Linked DNA regions of Homo sapiens: region 1 is linked to region 2. Evidence: promoter capture Hi-C in human tissues and cell types (Jung and others, 2019). All regions are on one chromosome and are shown on one strand. The core of a region is centred on a gene start or on the middle of the fragment in contact, and the rest is flanking DNA. Distances in the headings are between cores, read along the strand shown.

Region 1 (2,700 bases), core at 103-2,602, 74 kb before region 2:
CCCTCATACCTCTGAGCCTTTGCATATACTCTTCCCCCTTCCTACAACACTCTTCCTTTTTTTTTTCTTTTAGACAAGGTCTCATTCTGTCACCCAGACTATGTTTTTTTTTTTTTGTATTTTTTGTAGAGATGGGGTTTCGTCATGTTGCCCAGGCTGGTCTCAAACTCCTAGACTCAAGTGATCCACCCACCTCAGCCTCCCAAAGTGCTGGGATTACAGGCATGAGCCACTGCACTGGCACCACTCTTCCTTTTTTTACTTGATAACTCTTATTTGTCCTTCAGTTTCTTTACTTAGTCATGCTGTCTTCCAGGAAGCCTTCCTTAATTCCCCCCCAACACTGGCTTAGATTTACTCTTTTGTCTCCTATAACATCCAGTACTTATTTTTTATTTTATTTTATTTTTATTATTTATTATTTATTTATTTATTTATTTTTTGAGACGGAGTCTCTCTGTGTCACCTAGGCTGGGATGCAGTGGCACAATCTTGGCTCACTGCAACCCCCGCCTCCCAGGTTCAAGCAATTCTCTGCCTCAGCCTCCCAAGTAGCTGGGATTACAGGCATCTGCCACCACATCTGGCTAATTTTTTTGTATTTTTAGTAGAGATGGGGTTTCACCATCTTGGCCAGGCTAGTCTCGAACTCCTGACCTTATGATCTACCCACCTTGGCCTCCTACAGTGTTGGAATTACAGGCGTGAGCCACCACGCCTGGCCCTCCAGTACTTATTCTATCGAGATACTTCCTACTCTTTTGTATTAGTTGCTGGTTAGTTTGTGAGGTGAAGGGATGAGTCTGTCTTGCTTGTTATTGCATGCCTAAGTCTAGCCCAGTGTGCTTAGCACAAAGTAGGTGCTTTCTGAACATTTGTTGAATGAAAGAATGTTCTTTAAGTTCATTCCACATTTCAAAAATCTGGGCTCCGAGGAAGAATGCAGCAGGCCAGAGAAAGCGGGGAGACGTGTGTATTTAGGAATTTTTTTTTTTTTAAATGGAGTCTCGCTTGTCTTCCAGGCTGGAGTGCAGTGGCACAATCTCGGCTCACTGCAATCTCTGCCTTCTGGGTTCAAGTGATTCTCCTACCTCAGCCTCCAGAGTAGCTGGGATTACAGGCACGCGCCACCACACCCAGCTAATTTTTGTATTTTTAGTAGAGACAGGGTTTGTTTGTTTGTTTTTTGTTTTTTTTTTTGAGACGGAGTCTCGCTCTGTCGCCCAGGCTGGGGTGCAGTGGCGCGATCTCGGCTCACTGCAAGCTCCACCTCCCGGTCACGCCATTCTTCTGCCTCAGCCTACCAAGTAGCTGGGACTACAGGCGCCCGCCACCACGCCCGGCTAATTTTTTGTATTTTTAGTAGAGACAGGGTTTCACCATGTTAGCCAGGATGGTCTCGATCTCCTGACCTCGTGATCCGCCCTCCTCAGCCTCTCAAAGTGCTGGGATTACAGGCATGAGCCACCTCGGCCAGCCTGAGACAGGGTTTTGCCATGTTGGCCACGCTAGTCTCAAACTTCTGACCTCAGGTGATCCACCCACCTCGGCCTCCCAAAGTGCTGGGATTACAGGTGTGAGCCACCTCACCAGGCCTGTATTTAGGATTTTGAAGGACCATTCCCTTGAGTTGCTCAGCCTCACTCCTAGGGATGATGTGATCAGAACTCCATCACCCCAACTTCTTCTTATGAAAGACACTAGTATATTTCATGGATCAGATTCTAGGGTATCGTTTTTACAAAGGGTCATTTTCTAGAGATGACCAGGTTCTTACTTAATTCAATGTTGTCCCATTTTAGACACGGGCATCCAGGACAGGTCCCCTTGTTTCAGAATCAGACCCCAGTCTTCCTCTTCCTTTCATTTTTCACTTTGTCCCCTGCCATCCAGATTCCTTCCTGCTCCTTCCATGGCACTTCTGTTTCTGATTCTGATCTGCCTCTCCTAAAGCTGCTGAATTATATCAGGGCTCAATGTCAATGAAGGAACCCAAGGCTCAGGGAAGAGGGGAGCCAGAGTCAGTCCCAGAGGTCCTGCCTTGCAGCCCTGGTGCTGGAAGAGGGGATGGGGAGACCTAGCAGAGAGGGAGGGAAGTTGTAGTCTGTCTGTACCTGTAAATTTGTGTACATATTTGTTGGGGTGAGGAACTCCTTTTCCAAGCTGTCCTATACAAAGGTTGCCAGCCTCTTAAAAGCTTCCTTTCTACCCTGTGTCCTCAGCTTTGCCTCCTAAAATTGGATCCTCTTCCCCAAGTACCCTGAGCCTAGTGTCAGAAATGCTGGGTCAAGGCACTCGGCAGTCTCTAAATCCTGAGGCCATGAATGGATGTTCCTTCAACCCAAGGAGCAAGCTTTCCTGGTCATCAGCCCCATTGCTCTTAGAGGACCCAACAGACTAGTAGCTGATCCTCAGGGTCTCTCATCTGTATGCCCACCATTTGTTGTTTCCTCTTTGTCTCTCCTGTGTCTTTCTGTTTCCCTGTCTCTGCGTGCCTTCTTCTTTCCTGTCCCCTCTATGTTCTCTGTCGCTGGAGTATCCACTGGAGACAAGGGCTGGGCTGGGTGCATGGGCGGGTAGTGGCCAGACCAGGGGCCCGGGACATGAGCGCAACTTTCCAAGCTTCTCTTCCAGGCCCCTGTGGTTGGGGAGCTCCACAGAGGGAGAGATGAGTCAGCGGGGCCGCAGAGCAGCGGGGGC
Region 2 (2,700 bases), core at 24-2,523:
TGGCCACTGGCATCAAATAGCTGATGGGCAGCTACCGCTCGACAGGCTGTTGGAGAAGCAAAGTGAGGAACCTCACAAGGGGTACTTTCATCCTCCAAGAGTACTAGGAAGCTCAAGGCCTTCAGCCGAGCTGCAAATGCAGCTCGCCGTTCCAACAGGGCTTCTGCCCCCTTCCAAAGCAGAGAAAAGCTGCCCCGAGCCACGGCCTCATAGTCCTGGGGAGCAGCCTCGCGAGAGCACTGCACCAAGCAGGCATGGAGGGGCTGAGCAAGGCGGAGTGTGGCCTCTGGGCTTCCTTGTGCAGCAGCATTCCGCAGTAAGACAAAGAGAATTCGTTCCAGGTAGAGGGGAGGACGCTGTGGGGTAGACACTAAGTAGCCATCACAGGCCAGCTCTGCCAGCTCCAGCAGGCTCCCCAGATGCCTAGGGCAAGCTAGCTTAGCAGTCAGCTGCTGGTTGCAAGCCCTCAGGATGGCATCACAAGCTTGTCTCCTCTCAGCATCAGATCGGCTGCTGGGAAAACCAGCTGGAGGGTTGGACAGGAACTCCTAGGAGTAGAGAAAGATATGAATGGGGCTAGCAAAGGCAGGAAAGAGGTAGAGAAAGTAACTAGAAATAGGGTTACTCAGAGAGGGTCGCCTACTTATCCATCTCTTCAAAAGGCAAACACAAAACAGCTCAGTTTGGAAAGCCAGGTGTATCCCGAGCCAGGCAGCACCCCCACCTTCAAGGCGGGCAGCAACTCTTCAGCCTCCTTCTGGCTGCTTAGCAGAGTCCCAAAGTTGACTCTTTTGAAGCTCCTCATGACACCGGAGAGCTAGGGAAAAGGAGACCAATTAGAGAAGATTGTTAATGAAGCTAACTGGAGGAAGGGAAGAGGGCTGAAGGTCGTGGAAGGAGGCAAAGAATCACATCAGAAATTTCATCGGGGAGAAAACCCACGCCAGGACGCCGTGCTCCCGTTATAAAAGGACGATTCCGCTCTTCCTTCCTCCGGGCAGATCCCCGACCGCACTACCACACCACTCGCCGCGCTACCCCAGAGGCCTCGGCCCAGCCCTTCAGCGGCCCGGGGCAGTCCCAAGGCCTCCCGACACTCCCTCCAGGAGCCACCCACGCCTCTCCTCGCGTCAGCGCTGGGGATCCCCTTCACTTCAGCACGTACCCACGCTCACGAGTCCCTTCCGGCCTTACCGCCCCAGAGCTCGCCCTCTTTCCTAGGTACAGGACTTAACCGCCTGACCAGTACTCCGCGAGGATCCAAAATGTAACCTTCGTTTTCCGCGCCAGACCCTCCTTTCAAATATCCGCGGCTGCCAATCAGCGGGCGCGGCGCAACGCCGGGCGCGCGGCACGCTGGGAGTTGTAGTTTACCCGCCGCGCTGCGCGCTCCCGCGGCGCCCCGGAGGGTCTTGCTGCTCTGCGCGTTAGGGCCTCTTGGGGGTGCGGGTTTCCCCCTTTTTTCCAGTCAGAGCTCAGTTTCTCAGCTACCTGTCGCTTAGTCGCTATCGGTAATGCCACCCCTTTTCCTCCTTTATCTTCAGAGCTCAGGCAAGAGTTTAAGTTTCAAGAGAAGAGAAATAACAAAAAGAACTTAGGAACTCACGCGGTTTGGGTTACTAGAAAAAAAGGGCTTAGACTTCTACGAATTTTTTTTTTGATAGGGTCTTGCTCTGACACACAGGCTGGAGTGCAGTGGCGTGATCACAGCTCACTGCAGCTTCAAACTCCCGGGCTTAAGTGATCCTCCCACCTCAGCCTCCCAAAGTGCTGACTACGGGCGTGCACCGCCACGCCCAACTTCCTACGAAATTATTTTAAAGATGGTTTTCTAGGGGAACTACAATGAGTACCCGTAGCGACCTCCAGCTCTCTCTCTGCCTTCCAGCCTTACTCCTTCTATTGGTTGTATGAGAAAGACAAGATCTGGTGCTCTTCGATGGGGGAGAGAGGGTAGTGGGGTGGGGTGGGAGTTGTGAGTAGCAGGAAGAACTATGGAAATTCATTCCCTGGGATATTTCACAGTCTTTAATGGCTTATGTTTTTAAGTACTAACCACTTCCCCAAACACAGATTCAGCTGTCTCTTTCCTTCCTCCACCAAAGAATTCAGCTCAAAAGTGGTTATCAGCTTGTCGCTGATGAACTCTACTGGATAACTCATCCTTCTCCATCATCATAGAGCTCTTTTATGAGTTGAGAATCTAGCAGGGAAGATTATTTTTGTAAAAAGAAAGAAAAGAAGGCCGGGCGCGGTGGCTCACGCCTATAATCCCAGCACTTTAGGAGGCCGAGGTGGGTGGATCACTTGAGAACCAGCCTGACCAACATGGTGAAACCCCATCTCTACTAAAAATACAAAAATTAGCTGCTGTGGCATCGGGGGCCTGTAGTCCCAGCTACTTGGGAGGATCGCTTGAACCCGGGAAGCGGAGGTTGCAGTGAGCTGAGATCCCGCCACTGTACTGCAGTCTGGGTGACAGAGCAAGACTCTGTCTCAAAAAAGAAAACCAAAAAAAAGGCCGGGCGCGGTGGCTCACGCCTGTAATCCCAGCACTTTGAGAGACCGAGGCGGGCGGATCACGAGGTCAGGAGATCGAGACAATCCTGGCCAACATGGTGAAACCCCGTCTCTACTAAAAATACAAAAAATTAGCCGGGCGTGGTTGCAGGCTCCTGTAGTCCCAGCTACTCGGGAGGC

What was found. Contacts are between HindIII fragments. The study calls those that stand out against the background at their distance.
Region 1: a fragment that was not itself captured here is called in contact with the fragment with the promoter of ESPL1 in region 2 in 10 of the 25 tissues and cell types used here (IMR-90 fibroblasts, aorta, bladder and 7 more).

The regions. Positions count from the first base shown.
Region 1 is chr12:53,340,558-53,343,257 of GRCh38, reverse strand. It overlaps a transcript of SP7 not described here. Among named protein-coding and RNA genes, the nearest start is that of SP7, 5.6 kb to the right of the region's middle. The HindIII fragment of the contact is 4,818 bases long and covers 1-2,700 here.
Region 2 is chr12:53,266,872-53,269,571 of GRCh38, reverse strand. ESPL1 (extra spindle pole bodies like 1, separase) reads right to left here and starts at 1,273. Exons shown (of 31, transcript NM_012291.5): 1 at 1,195-1,273; 2 at 725-817; 3 at 1-548. The coding sequence starts at 805. RefSeq lists enhancers at 827-906, 967-1,336. The HindIII fragment of the contact is 10,197 bases long and covers 88-2,700 here.